Linked DNA regions of Homo sapiens: region 1 is linked to region 2. The links are contacts of gene promoters, found by promoter capture Hi-C in blood cells and fetal thymus (Javierre and others, 2016). All regions are on one chromosome and are shown on one strand. Each heading gives the region's core, a stretch centred on a gene start or on the middle of the fragment in contact. The rest is flanking DNA. Distances are from core to core; before and after follow the strand shown.

The links. Contacts are between HindIII fragments. The CHiCAGO score rates a contact against its expected background, and 5 or more counts as called.
Region 1: a fragment that was not itself captured here is called in contact with the fragment with the promoter of LINC02086 in region 2 in 3 of 17 cell types (endothelial precursors, M1 macrophages and M2 macrophages); the score reaches 5.8 in endothelial precursors.

The regions. Positions count from the first base shown.
Region 1 is chr17:48,359,127-48,365,544 of GRCh38, forward strand. SKAP1 (src kinase associated phosphoprotein 1) reads right to left here. Exons shown (of 13, transcript NM_003726.4): 3 at 4,663-4,688. Among named protein-coding and RNA genes, the nearest start is that of SKAP1, 68 kb to the right of the region's middle. The HindIII fragment of the contact is 990 bases long and covers 3,591-4,580 here.
Region 2 is chr17:48,641,243-48,648,016 of GRCh38, forward strand. LINC02086 (long intergenic non-protein coding RNA 2086) reads left to right here and starts at 1,385. Exons shown (of 8, transcript NR_189645.1): 1 at 1,385-5,120. It overlaps LINC03057 (long intergenic non-protein coding RNA 3057), which reads right to left and starts at 5,610. Exons shown (of 2, transcript NR_186590.1): 1 at 5,363-5,610. RefSeq lists enhancers at 1-982, 983-1,979, 5,147-5,815, 5,254-5,303, 6,194-6,403 and a silencer at 5,524-5,703. The HindIII fragment of the contact is 12,737 bases long and covers 1-3,539 here.

The DNA.
Region 1 (6,418 bases), core at 2,836-5,335, 280 kb before region 2:
TACCTTTACATTATGGAGAAGTTTAAACATGTATAAAAGTAGACAAAACAGTGTAATAAACTCCCATATATACATCATTCAGCTTCAACAAGTGTCAACTTATGGCCGATCTCATCTCATCTATATTTACCCTGTTTCTTTCTCCTCTCCCATATTATTTGTCAGACATTATATATTTAAATATCATGGCACACCTCTCTCTGAAATAAAGAACTGTTTTTAAAAAAATTAACCATAATACCACTGCTACACCTAAAAAAATCCAGTAGTTTCCTAATAACATAAAATAACCAGTGTTCAAATTTCTAATTCTCTCATAGATGTCATTTTTTAATAGTTTGCTTGACTCAGAATGCACAAAGTTTATACATTCGTTGGTAAACCTCTTAAATCTCTTAATTTACAGTTAACATGGCTTTATAATTTCCTTATTCACTTAGCACTATTTGTTTTTGCCAGGCTATATTTTTATTTGTTTATTTCTTTGTTTGTGTGTTTGGGACAAGGTCTCGCTCGGTCTCCTATGCTGAAGTGCAGTGGCGCGATCTCGGCTCACTGCAGTCTCAACCTGCCAGGCTTGAGTGATCCTCCCACCTCAGCCTCCCAAGCAGCTAGGACTACAGGCCTGTGCCACCATGCCCAGCTAATTTTGTTTTTTTTGTAGACACAGGGTCTCACCATGTTGCCCAGATTGATCTCAAACTCCTGGGCTCAAGCAATCTACCTGCTCAGCCTCCCAAAGTGCTGGGACTACAGGCATGAGCCACTGTGCCTGGCCTGCCAGGCTATATTATTAGGCATCGATTTACTTTGACGTGAATATAGGCTTGCCATTTCAAAATGAGATTTTTAAGCTTCACAAAGTAGAATTTTTTCATAATGAAATATACTGAATAATTTTCTCAGAAACCTTTTACACCACTCATAGAGATACTCAAAGAATCTTTAAGTTGGCAAGAGATTCCACTGGCCCATGTTTACCACTACCACAAATGTAATGTGAGTGACCACTGGATAAAAAAAAGATATTATTCTATATAATATTCCCATGGTCTTCCCTAGATTTTTATTTAAATATTATGTCATTTGTTTTAGATTCTGGGTCTATGGTGGGAAATTCAATCTAATATTCATGAAGATTTTTTTATAGCAAATAAATTTTGAATTATAAACATTATACCTTATAATCAAATTTTTTATTAAAACTATCACTAACTCATTTTATAAAAGGGGAAACTGAAGCAAAATGAAGGAAATCAGTTTGCTCAATAACTTTAAGTGATATTGCCATCAAATCTAAGGGCAAAATTAATATTCCCTTATCGATATCACCTTTTAGATATTGATTACTGAAATTATAAAAATTCCATGGCAAAAACTCCGCTGGCTTTTCTTTGTAACTTTAAGTAAAAAATTAAGTAGAAATTTTTTTTGAGTAAGCAGGACATGAATTATTAAAGCAATATTATGTCTTATTGTCAAGTAAAAATAAAAAGCCTCTTTCATGTTCTCCAATTATGTTTAAGCTCATTAAAAGTGCCCTTCCATTTATATCCCCTCTACATTAAAGTAATGTATTCTTTGGATCATGTTTTATTTTCCCTGTTTCCTTTTTAAAATAAATATCATTCAGGAAGTTGACAGTGGACCAATAAAAAAACGCAGGTGGAAATGTGAGAGAAAGAATTACCATTAATGTCCCATTATGATAAATAGAAACTACTGGCTTTTTTTTTCCCACTATGTCAAGGTACTAAGCTCGATGCTTACACACATTACTACTAATCTTCAACAACCTTGCAATGAGACAGTGAAAAACAGTCACGAAGAGTATGGGCTCTCGACCTCTGGAGATAATGGGCTCTAGAATCCATACAGGGTTTCTTATTGGGGTGATGAAACGTTCTGAAATTAGATAGTGGTGATGGTTGCACAACTTGTACTGTACTATACTATACTATACTATACTATACTATACTATACTATACTATACTATACTGTACACCACTAACTTGTACCTTTTAAATGGGTAAATTTTATGGTATGTGAATTATATCTTGATAAGGCTGCCTTGGTTTTTTTTTTTTTTTCTTTTTGAGACAGAGTTTTGCTCGTGTTGCCCAGGCTTGAGTGCAATGACACAATCTCGGCTCACTGCAACCTCCGTCTCCCAGGTTCAAGCGACTCTCCTGCCTCAGCCTCCCAAGTGGCTGGGACTACAGGCATGCACCACCACTCCCAGCTAATTTTTTGTATGTAGTAGAGACAGGGTTTCACCATGTTGGTCAGGCTGGTCTCGAACTCCTGACCTCAGGTGATCCACCTGCCTGCCTCAGCCTCCCAAAGTACTGGGATTATAGGCATGAGCCACCGCACCCGGCCAAGGCTGCTATTTTTAAAATGTGTGCTACTAAAAGGATATACAAATAATGGATCTTTTATAATTAAAGACTATTTTCCTTCCAGGCACCAGACCTGGTTTAGTTCAAATATCTTGAAGAACTCAAGTGTGTTTTTAGGCAGATGCAGAGTTAATAAAATTCATCCCATCATCTTCTTGTACAGAGGGTCCTGTCACAGATAAAAATGCTCAGAAAGTTTGGGGCCAGCATTTCTGTTCTTTCTCACTCCCATCCCAACACCACCCAGTTTTCCAGGGCTTTTAAGATTCTTCTGCTAGTTGTTCTCTTTCTTACATATTTCTAATCTTTTCATAATCTTAAATTGTCCTGTTGTACCTTATCTAAACCACTTACTCCTCCTACCCATCCCACCAGCTTCTGAAGCACATAATCAGCTAAGGTCTGATCAAAAGGGCAAGGTAAAAGATACCCTCTCACTAACTCCTCCTACCCCTGAAAATATCTGTGAGAAGTCATGAGACTGGGGGCTAGGGCATGAGTTTTTCTATGTCATCTTTCCTTACATTTACTTCCAAATGCACTAAGACTTTGCCACATATATTTAATCATTGTCAAGAAGCAAATACAGTTTTCTGTTCTAAATAAACTATTTTCACTTGTCTCCTTGGCTGCTCTACCTCTGTCCTCTCTCCAAGAGAGAAAGGATGGGTAGAAGCTGCTTTATGTTGAAAGATGACTGCAATGCCAGCATTTCAAGAATCTGGTAAGATGTGCCTTTTGTCTTTTTTAGTCCCATATAGTCTCTTGTGTTAAGCTCCAAAATTATTTTCTCTTCTCAACCTATTCCTATACCACATCTCTGACACTAACTCTTTATTTCTCCTTTAGGTAATTAATTCTACCCTCACAGTTCCATTCATTTCTGCCAGTTCACAATCATGTGCTTCCCCCTGTGGATTTTGGTTAACATCTGTTAAACCCTGAACTATAGGGCCATCCCCTGAATAGTGCAATTCACATTTTGCGAAGCAAATTGCTACATTATTACATAAAATTATCCACTGCTCAATCTATGTTTTCAGCTATAAATGCTTTAGGACAGTGAGATATGTAGTAACAGCACATCACATTACGTAAAATAGTGTAAGTGCTCCAACTTTAACTTATGAGAGTCAAGAAGCTTTGAAAATGTATGGTTTTTATTTCTTAAAGATGGCTTTAAAATAAAGCTTTATAAAAACTTGAAATACACTAAAAGCATGAGCCAGAAAAATAAAAATTTTAATAAAACTTATAATCACTCACAATTTTAATTTATTTAAGGTATTACTATTCACTGAGGTTGGATACAGTGACAACATTAAGAGAATAAAAAGTACTTAAAAAGTTTACAATTGGTTAAGAAAGTTATAGAGCAAAATAGTTTATAAAGCTATTTGTAAGTTTGATCTAAAACTCTGTGATTATCTGAGAAAATAAAGCCCCTCCATTTATAATAAATTAAGATAATATTCAGGTTGATGTTTCTGACATTCTCAACCAGAGTACTAAAAAGAAGGAAGGCAAATACTTTAAAAGATATCCCCTCAAACTGTTTGAATTCGGAAAAAAATATTTCAATTCTGAACCTTTTAAAAATGTGTTTTAATCCTGGCCTTTTTCTTTTTTTAATTTTGCACACAGCTGTCTGTAGTACTTTTTAGAATCATGCCAGATGCTGGGTTCATCAAGCAAAAGCAGGAAAACAATGGTTTGAAAGCAATTAGAAGCACTGAGGCTGCAGCAAGGCTCATATTAAAATGTGATAACACTGTTCTAGTGGGAATTTCAACACTGCTCCATTTCTGACATTTCTCTGCTGCCAGACAGGCAGGCTGTGTGGAAGGGCACTGTGATCGAGGAGGTAACATACTGGAATTTATTTCTGGAGCAAATGAAGGATTAGCTGAGTTGGAACCCTCCCAAGGTTTTTATTATGGACTTGGCTACCATTTTATTTGAATGCTACTGGATCCTGTTGGCACCTAACAAAGCTCAAGGAATTAAAGCATATTATAGCCTTGGTTTTATAAAATAATCTAGCAACAGTCCACTCAGAAGGAGGAAGCATAGAGCTTCTTGTTGCTAAAAAGCAGGGCAGGGGAGCGCAGCAGGGTGAAGGTTAATTAAACACTCCACTAACTTTCCTTGGAAATGGTTAATGCCACTCTGTGGAGAAGCTTGTAGAGAAGAGACAGGAATAAACAATCCCATTTACACATTTTTAGCATAAAACCATACGTGGTCAAAGAGGACTCACCTTGGGGCTGAAAATCCCAATAGTACCTGAAATACAAGGGGGAAAAAAAAAGGGAATAAGTCAAACTTGTATTTCTCAATTTTGGTTGGCCTACCATAGCTATAGCACCTGGTCCAAAAAGCTTGCTAAAGTCTATAACCAGCCAAAGTCACTACTAATTTTGAGAAAAACAAAAGGTTATCCCTGAGATTTGAAAGAGTCTCAATGGCTTAAAAGATGCATTTAATTCACTGAAATTCCTCACGTAATTTTGACTTTAGAGCTGGAAAGGTCCTAAAAGGGAACCTAGCGGTGGCCTGGGGTTTCTCATCAAGAGCTCTACGGGCTTTCAGCAGGATGGTTCTTTGTTGTGACAATCTGGCCTGTGTATTACAGGACTGTGTATTACACTGGTCCTAGGTACCAAATACCAGAGGCATTCCCAGTTGTTATAACAGTCAAACCCCACCACCAACACCAACACATCTCAAATGCCTCTGAAGCCTAATTTTTTTTTTCTCTGTTACCCAGGCTGGAGTACAGTGACACAATCATAGCTCACTGCAGCCTCGAACTCCTGGGCTTTGCCTTTTAAACCTAAATTCTTAATTTTACAAGTGAAACATGGGCCGGGTGTGGTGGCTCACGCCTGTAATCCCAGCACTTTGGGAGGCCAAAGCAGGCAGATCATGAGGTCAGCAGTTCGAGACCAGTCTGACCAACATGGTGAAACCCTGTCTCTACTAAAAATATAAAAATTAGCTGGGCATGGTGGCGTGTGCCTGTAATCCCAGCTACTCAGGAGGCTGAGGCAGGAGAATCGCTTGAACCCAGGAGGCGGAGGTTGCAGTGAGCTAAGATCGCGCCATTGCACTCCAGCCTGGGTGACAGAGCGAGACTCCATCTCAACAAAACAAAACAAACAACAACAACAACAAGTGAAACATGAACAATTGACTTAAGGTTGTCTAACGTTTTAGTGCAATTGACTTAAGGTTGTCTAACATTTTAGTGTCTGAGCCAAGAATGGGGCTCTTGCAGTTCATTGTACCATCCTATCTCCTCTATTATTTTGGGAAATAATTGGCAAAACTGACAACCCTTGAAGTCTTTTATTTATCTATTTTTTTTTCTGAGACTAGGCCTTGCTCTATCACCCAAGCTGGAATGCAATGGCATGAACGTCACTCACTGCAACCTTGACCTGCTGGGCTCAAGGGATCCTCCTACCTCAGCCTCCCATGTAGCTGGGGCCACAGGCACACGCCACCACACCTAGATGCTTACACACATTACTACTAATTCTCAACAACCTTGCAATGAGAGACTGAAAAACAGTTACTGTTTTTTTGTTTTTGTTTTTGTTTTTGTTTTGTAGCGATGGGGTCTCACTTTGTTGCCCAGGCTGGGGCTTAAGCAATCCTCCCACTTTGGCATCCCAAAGTGTTGGGATTGCAGGGATGAGCCACTGCATCCAGCAACCCTTGAAGTCTTAAACTAACAAAATAGCAGTGGTGGAAAGGATCATTTGTAAGTCACTTATTTGGAAACTAAATTGCATTTCTTTCCCCACAAAAACAATGTTATATATGATGGTTACCCAAGAAAGGCTACTGTATTTTGGATCCCATTTCCTCCTGCCTTCACAGGAACTTTACATTATTCTTTATCAATTTTTCTCTTGTCTGTATTCAACCTCTTCCTCTCAGTTTGGCCCTTTCCATCAGCATTTATGCTCATATAAAAATAAAGCAAATCCTCCCTCACCCCTTCACAT
Region 2 (6,774 bases), core at 135-2,634:
GGTCTCTGTGTCTCTAATTAAATTAATATGGAGCTTTTATCCACTGGGGCCTGGACCTTCCGCCATTTGTCACCTTGTCCAAAGCTATCTCATACCGAAAGAGAATTGAACGTTTCAGGAAACACTTCCCCTTTGCAAATGCCCTTCTCTTGGGGAATGGGTATAGTGTCCAAATCTCCAGCTCCCACCATTTCTAGCCAGCCCTGAGGAATTGTCTGAGACCCGGGAGCCCAGAGATCATCAGCGGGGGCCAACAGCCATGACCTTTGAGTTTTCTTGGCCGCTGGGCCACAGAAAGGGTGCAAGAGGCAGCTGGACAGGTAGACAGAAGTAGGCACAAAGAAAGGGGCCCTGGACGGTTGCCAGAGAAAAGACGGAGAATGACAAAGAGAGAAGTGAAATAGCTGGACTGGAGGCGGGAACTGGAGCGCAGCAGGCAGGTGGAGTGGCCAAAACCCGCGTGCTAAGAAGAGCCCACAGGGGCGGCAGGGGCGGCAGGGGCGGCAGAGGCGGCCAGGCGCGTCTCCGTTCCCCATCTTTACGGGGAGGTTAATGACCTCCTCAGCGCCCCCTCGTCCCAAACCACCCAATTACAACTCCTCAGGCTCCTTAATGATCTGATTAATTGGTTGGTTAGGGCGGATGGAGGTGCTTCTCTGCCGGGGACCTGGCGGGGTTTCGCTAGATCATTTGTTAATTGTGGGAAGGAAGGACGCATCCGGGGAGAGGAGATCCAGGGCTGGAAAAGTGGGTGAGCGGCGCTGGCGCAGGCGGCCAGGAGAGAGCAGATGAACCGTTCGTTAGGAGCAGCGAGGTAGTCGTGAGCGCTGAGATCCAGAGACTAGGACCCACTCCCTCTCTGAGCAGCAAATTGGGAAGAAGATGCTCACTCGGTAAGGGCGAGGGAGCCCGGCATGGCGCCCCACCACGGGCTCGGTCTATCTGCGCGCCAAGATCCCGCTTGGGGCGAGGCGTTGGGTCAGCGTTTAGAGCCACTCCCTGCGCTGGTGGCTGGACATAGCCTCCCTATCCCACCTCATCTTCCCCCATCCCCGACAGAGGAGGTTGTGAATCTACAGGCCCTTGACGTTGAGGCGTCGGAGGGCGCACCTTTGTAATTGCGGCCTCCCTTCGCCCCTTAAGTGCCGCTTCTGGGCGCCTAGGCTGGATATGAAAGCCCCGTTCCTAATCCTCTGCTCTGGTCCCCTCCTCTGGACTGCTGGGACTCTAAGCTAGGCCCTCCCCAGGTTCCATCACTGCGGCGCCAACCCGCGGCTGGGCTGTCCGCAAGAGGGAGTTGAAGGCGCGCGGAATCCCGAGGTGCAGCTGACCCTCCTCTCAACGCCGACTCTGCCGCTCCCGCCCGGCCACCTCCCTGTCGGGCAGACTTCCTGTTCTCCTGCTCACAGCAGGGAGGCAGTCGCCGAGCCGGTCAGCAGCGTGCACGGAGATCTTCACTCTGCGCCCAGCCCCGGGACACAGGTGCAGATCTCCAGCGGAGCACTGCGGAGTGCGCGCCGTCGAGCACTAGGGAATCCTAGACGGAGGACTTGGTCCATTCCACGCAGTCCCAGGCAGGTCCGCAGCGGAGGGACGCAGCGGTCTCCAACTCCTGGTCACGACTTCGGCGACCCTCCACCCCCTGAGAGACCTGGTCCCACGGAGCTGTCCCCCCAGGAGCCGCAGCGGGAATAGCAAAGCAAAGGGGACCACTCAGCCCCCAGGAGGAGCCCTGAAGCAAAAAGGTTGCTGCGGGGAGCCACGTTCCCTCTGGTTCACCTCGAAGCCCAGGAGCTCCGGTCCCTGGACCAAGGAGTGAACAGACCTGAGGAAGAGGTAAGAGGAGGTTTAACGAGTAAAAATTTGGACTCTCTCCTCTTATACTGCTTTAAAGCATGAGGAATTTGGGCCCTGACTTCTCTCTCCTTGAAGAAGTTTCTCGCGTTCTGGCCAGTCCTTGCGTGTCTGCACCCAGGGCCGGCAACAATTTAAGGAGGAACTTTACTGGGTGGTCGAGGCTTGAGAGTTCATAGTTACCTTTTAAAAAAATCATTACTATTACTTAATATCTAGGTTATTTTGGACTGAGCCCCCATCTTCGCTCCAGCCCAAATTCGGCCTTTAACAGTACTAGGGAGTGCTTCAAAAGAGGAGGGTCGTGGAGGAAGCGACTCAGACGGCCCCAAGAGGAGAGATGGGAAGGAGTGAGGGCTTTGGCCTTAATGATCTCTGCAAGTTAAAGGCCATTATTCCTATAACTACAGCTGGGGAAAGGGCAGAGGAGGTAAGGACGGAAAGTGGGCTGAGGGTGGCCACTTTGGCATCTTCTTGAGAAAGGAGACATTTGAATTCCCGGCCCAACTAAAAGCCCTGAGATGCTTGCCCTTTGCTTTACAGACAGTGATGGCAAAGAAATACTGCCACCAGGGTGTTTTTAAAGGTGAAGGTTGACCTGATAAGCACTGAGATCAGACAAAGGAAAAAAAAAGTAAAGCATTTGGTCTTTCAGTTTTCTGGCTAAATCTGGCATCATTTTCCAGACACAAACTTCTCTGATTAATCCAAATAGCTCTCAACCTGAAGTTCAAGGAATTTGAAATCCTCTGAAATTGTGGGATTTCACAGTTCTAAAAGGAAGTCAGCTGTCACTTTCTGAGAAGCCCTGGGAGGGGAAGGAAGCAAGAGGAGGTATATGAGGAAAGGGGGTGAGAGGCCCCAGATCTAGCTCTCTAGACATTTAGTGCTGGACCCCCAAGCTCTGAAACTCAAGCTGACCCCATCTACACATTGCCAAACTGAGTAGAAAGTTGCAAGGCAGTCAAGGAGATAAATTTTATTTACTGCTTTAAGGATGAGTTTGGGTGTCTAAGCAGATTATAAATCTGGGTGTTTTCAGTATTTGTTTCTTTCTTTCAACTATTACTGATTTTTGGCCCAGAGTAGTTTCTGGGGCCCTTGGGGCAGTTAGGCAAGAGAGGGACTCAGACCTCCAGTCCCTTGATCTTGCCTTTACTTGGTGAAGAGCCCAAGATTCTCTACTGGCAGGCAAGGTCAGAACCAAGTTGGCCCTAGGCCTTGCCCCAACCCCCCAGCCCTCAGGACTCCTTTCTCTGAGACCAGGCCTCTGGCCAAACTGCAGACTCCCTCCACACCCGGTCACTGGAATAATGATGGCATTTTTGATTTCTCCCATTTTTGAAAACTATAGAAGCCCCAAGGAGGAAGGAGGTACCACTGGATCTTGGGGTGCTGGTGGGGGATTCTGGAATCAAATATCCTCTAAGCCTGTGAGGACAAGGTCTACTAGGATGACTTGGTGTCAATTACAGCTCTGAGTGCTGCCTGGATAGGTCAAATATTCCCTCCTTTCCCTCCTCATTCCTTCCGTTCAAGCCCAGAAAATTCACAGATTTTCTGTGTGGAGAGAGAGAAAAAAAATGGGCAAAACCTGGGAGTAAAAGGGAGATGAGGGAGAAGAAAATGAGGGAGAGAAACCAATAGACTAAAACAATGAAACTCTCTAACCCAACAGCACTTTAAGCTTGACTTTTAATCTGGCCAGAAAAAAAAAGAAGTTGGAGGCAGGGTGGGTGGGATGTGAAGTTCCCAGCCCAACAGATCCTCCTGTTGTCACGGGCTCTGTGCGTTCCCAGCTGGTGAGAACCCTGTCTGTCCTGGGGGTGGGAGGGATGTCCTGGGTCTTTCAAGTTGCAGTGTGGGGAGTGAGGCTCTTTCTAAGGGTCTCTGAGGTCTCCCACAACACCTTGCTTGGACTAGCAAAACCTTTCTTTGCATTTCCTCTGGGGCACTGTGTATGTGTATCCCTGTGTAGGGTGGTGTTCTAAACCACCGCAGAAGGTGAGCAATTCTCCTCCCAGCGAGCCAAAGGCTATATGTTTGGGGTGGAGGAGGCTTCATCCCTTCTGGACTGGAGAAATGGGGACTTGGAGCCAAGTGCGCCAGACTTTAGGGAAAGAGAGGAGCTCCAGCTCCAAAAGGGATTTGGAGGGAAGATCCTATCAGGAAAGGCCCCCCAGACTTGCTTCCTCAAAGGGTTAGGGAAGTGCACTGAGAAAAGAGAACTTTCACTTAACTCTTCTCCATTAGGCATCTTTGTGCTTCCATTTGTACTGGAAAGCACAGTCCTGGGCAGTCAGTTGCACATTCCGCCTCTGGTATGTGGACTATGTGAAATATACCATGCAATGTTCTACTTTGCGAGGGGGGAGGCATATAGATGAAAATATGAATTTCCCTTCTACTGCCTTTATTATTGAGCACAGTTGGGAGCACATAATTTCACATCTCTTTCGCATGTCTGTATAAATCCTCAATCTTTAAACGGTGCTTGACTACTCCGAGAGGCACAGTTGCTGTCATATAAGATTCCTAGCCGACTCCGGCGAGTTACTAATTCCTCTCAGACTCCACAATACCCACGATGCACGATGCACACCCCTTTATGCTTGCTTTTCTTTACATGCCTTTTCAAAGGCGAATAATTTTTGTATTGACCCATGAGTCAGTCCATACAGTTTGAAATCCTTTGGATGCCCTCTGCCCACTCCCATAAACAACAGGTCCCTCCACAAAAATGCACATGCCCCGTTTTTGTGAGTGTGGGTTTCAAATAAGATGGCGTCTCCTGGCATTCCTTAGATTCAGATACACGCTCTCTCAGGCAGGAGGCTGCTCACAGTCCAGAGGGGAAGAAAACCTATGAGGCCCCCAAAAGCCAAAGCAAGAGACTCCCCCAAGTATTCTGCCCCCTCCACGCCAGGAGGCAGCTAGAGAGACAGCGCGCGGGAGAGCTGATTCTGCACCTTGGGGAGCTGGGGGCTTCTGTCTAGACCAAGAGTTCCAGGCCAATTCCTAATTTCCGTTAGGAAAAGTGGCCCTTCTTCCATCCCAAGCGATTCCTCACCCCCAAGGCTGCTCAGGGCGTCTGGCCCTTGCCTCTCTCACGGCATCCGCCTGGAATCCGGGGTTGTGAGCAGGAGGCCCAGGACGCAGGGCCTCAGGCTGGGCGGGGCACTGAGCACTCGGCTCTGGGGAGCCAGGGTTTCCGGTAGAACGAGGGGAGGCGACCCCCTTTCCCCACACACACACCTGTTGGAGAGGTAGGGTCGGGTGCCAGCGGACAGGGAGGCCAAGGCGTTTTCGGGTGCGCCCCGAGGCCCTACCCGGGAAGCTGCCTCGGTCTGGAGATCAAGGTTAAGCCGGTGGCCCCGGGAAGCCCACGCCTGCCACGGGCGGTTGGTCCTGAAAGCTCGGGCCACGGGGCTGCCCAGCTTGGAGAGGGGCCTTTCACGCCGCAGTCCCCAGCTGCGAGAGGAAGGGCTGCGCCCGCCTCCTCACCTACCTCTCGGAACCACGCCGTCCCCCGCGCGTCTTCGTAGACTGCAGGAGTCCAGGGCGTCTGGGGACTGTGACGGCGCCCAAGGCGGGGGATGTGGCGGCTCTGGGTCGCCGCCTTCTGCCCCCGCCTCTGTGAGGCCTCTCGAGGCAGTGTCTGTGTCTGGGGCAGCGACGCCGACGGCGCTGGGGGCGCGAAGGGGCTCACGCTCCTGCGTTCCCCTGGCGCCGGTGAGTGGCGGGCGAGGACAGGGTCCGGGAGGGGGATAGGCGAGAGCGCTTCCTGCCTCCGCCCGGGCGGGGCTCGGCCGTCTCACCTGCCCCCACCCACGGCGCCGTCGGATCCCAGAGCGGCTGGTGAGGAGATGGGCCTGGCGCGCCGCGGGGAGGCCAGAGGCGCGGAGGAGCAGCGCCCAGATGGCCGGAGAGAGCAGAGAGAGAGAGAAGAGAGAGAGAAGAGAGAGAGAGAGAGAAGAGAGAGAGAGGGAGAGAGGCAGAGAGGGAGAGAGGGAGGGAGAGAGGGAGGGAGGGAGGGAGGGAGAGAGAGAGAGAGAGAGAGAGAGAGAGAGAGAATATGAGAATATGAGAATATAAAAGGCAAGAGAGAAGCAGATCCAAGGGCGCGCCCAGAGAAACATCAAATGCACAAATAGACAAAAGAGGTAGAGGAGAAAGCTGAGTCCCAGGGGCTGAAAGAAGCCATGGGCGTCTGAAGCGAGCGACAAGTTATCCTTGGGAGTTGGAAATGTGAGAGGGAGGGGCGAGGCCGAAGGAGGCTGAGAAGGGGAGGGGGCGCTCACACCCTGGGCGGGAGGCGACTGATCCACACTTAGGGCTCCGAATCCGGAGAAAGAGAGCGCCGGACCCTCCTCCGCCCACCTCCCGCCCCAGCCGCAGCCCAGCGACTTCCCGCCATCCTCGGCCACCGAGCGGCTCCTGCCTGGGGTTGTTCGACCGGGATGGCTGCACCAGGCTGAAGGTTGTCCCTCTACCTGCCTCCTTTCTTCTGTTCCCTGTGCCTTACATGGGTTCCTCCCTATTCTATGAACCCAGAGGGAACGACCTTGGCCAAGGTTAGAGAAGGAGCTTGAAAGTTTCACTTTCCATCTTAGCCCTCAGGACGCCTTTGCGTTTTGGCCCTTCGTTAGCGTGCTATCCTGGAATTGCAGGCTCTTCTCTTTATTTCTGAGACCCAAATAGAGGTTTAACCTCCTTAAAATCAGTGAAACTACGACAAACAGTGGCATTCCTGGCTGTCTGGTCTCTAAGGAGTGCCCCCCCTCCCTGACCTCAGCCCTGAGACCCTGCTTCCTCCTCAACCTGCATGGGACTGGGGACACCCCCTCACAATCCAGTCCCTTCCTGCAGGTGGTTGTCCAGGGGGCATGTAGAGGTGTGCCTGAGCTCTGTGTCCTAAGC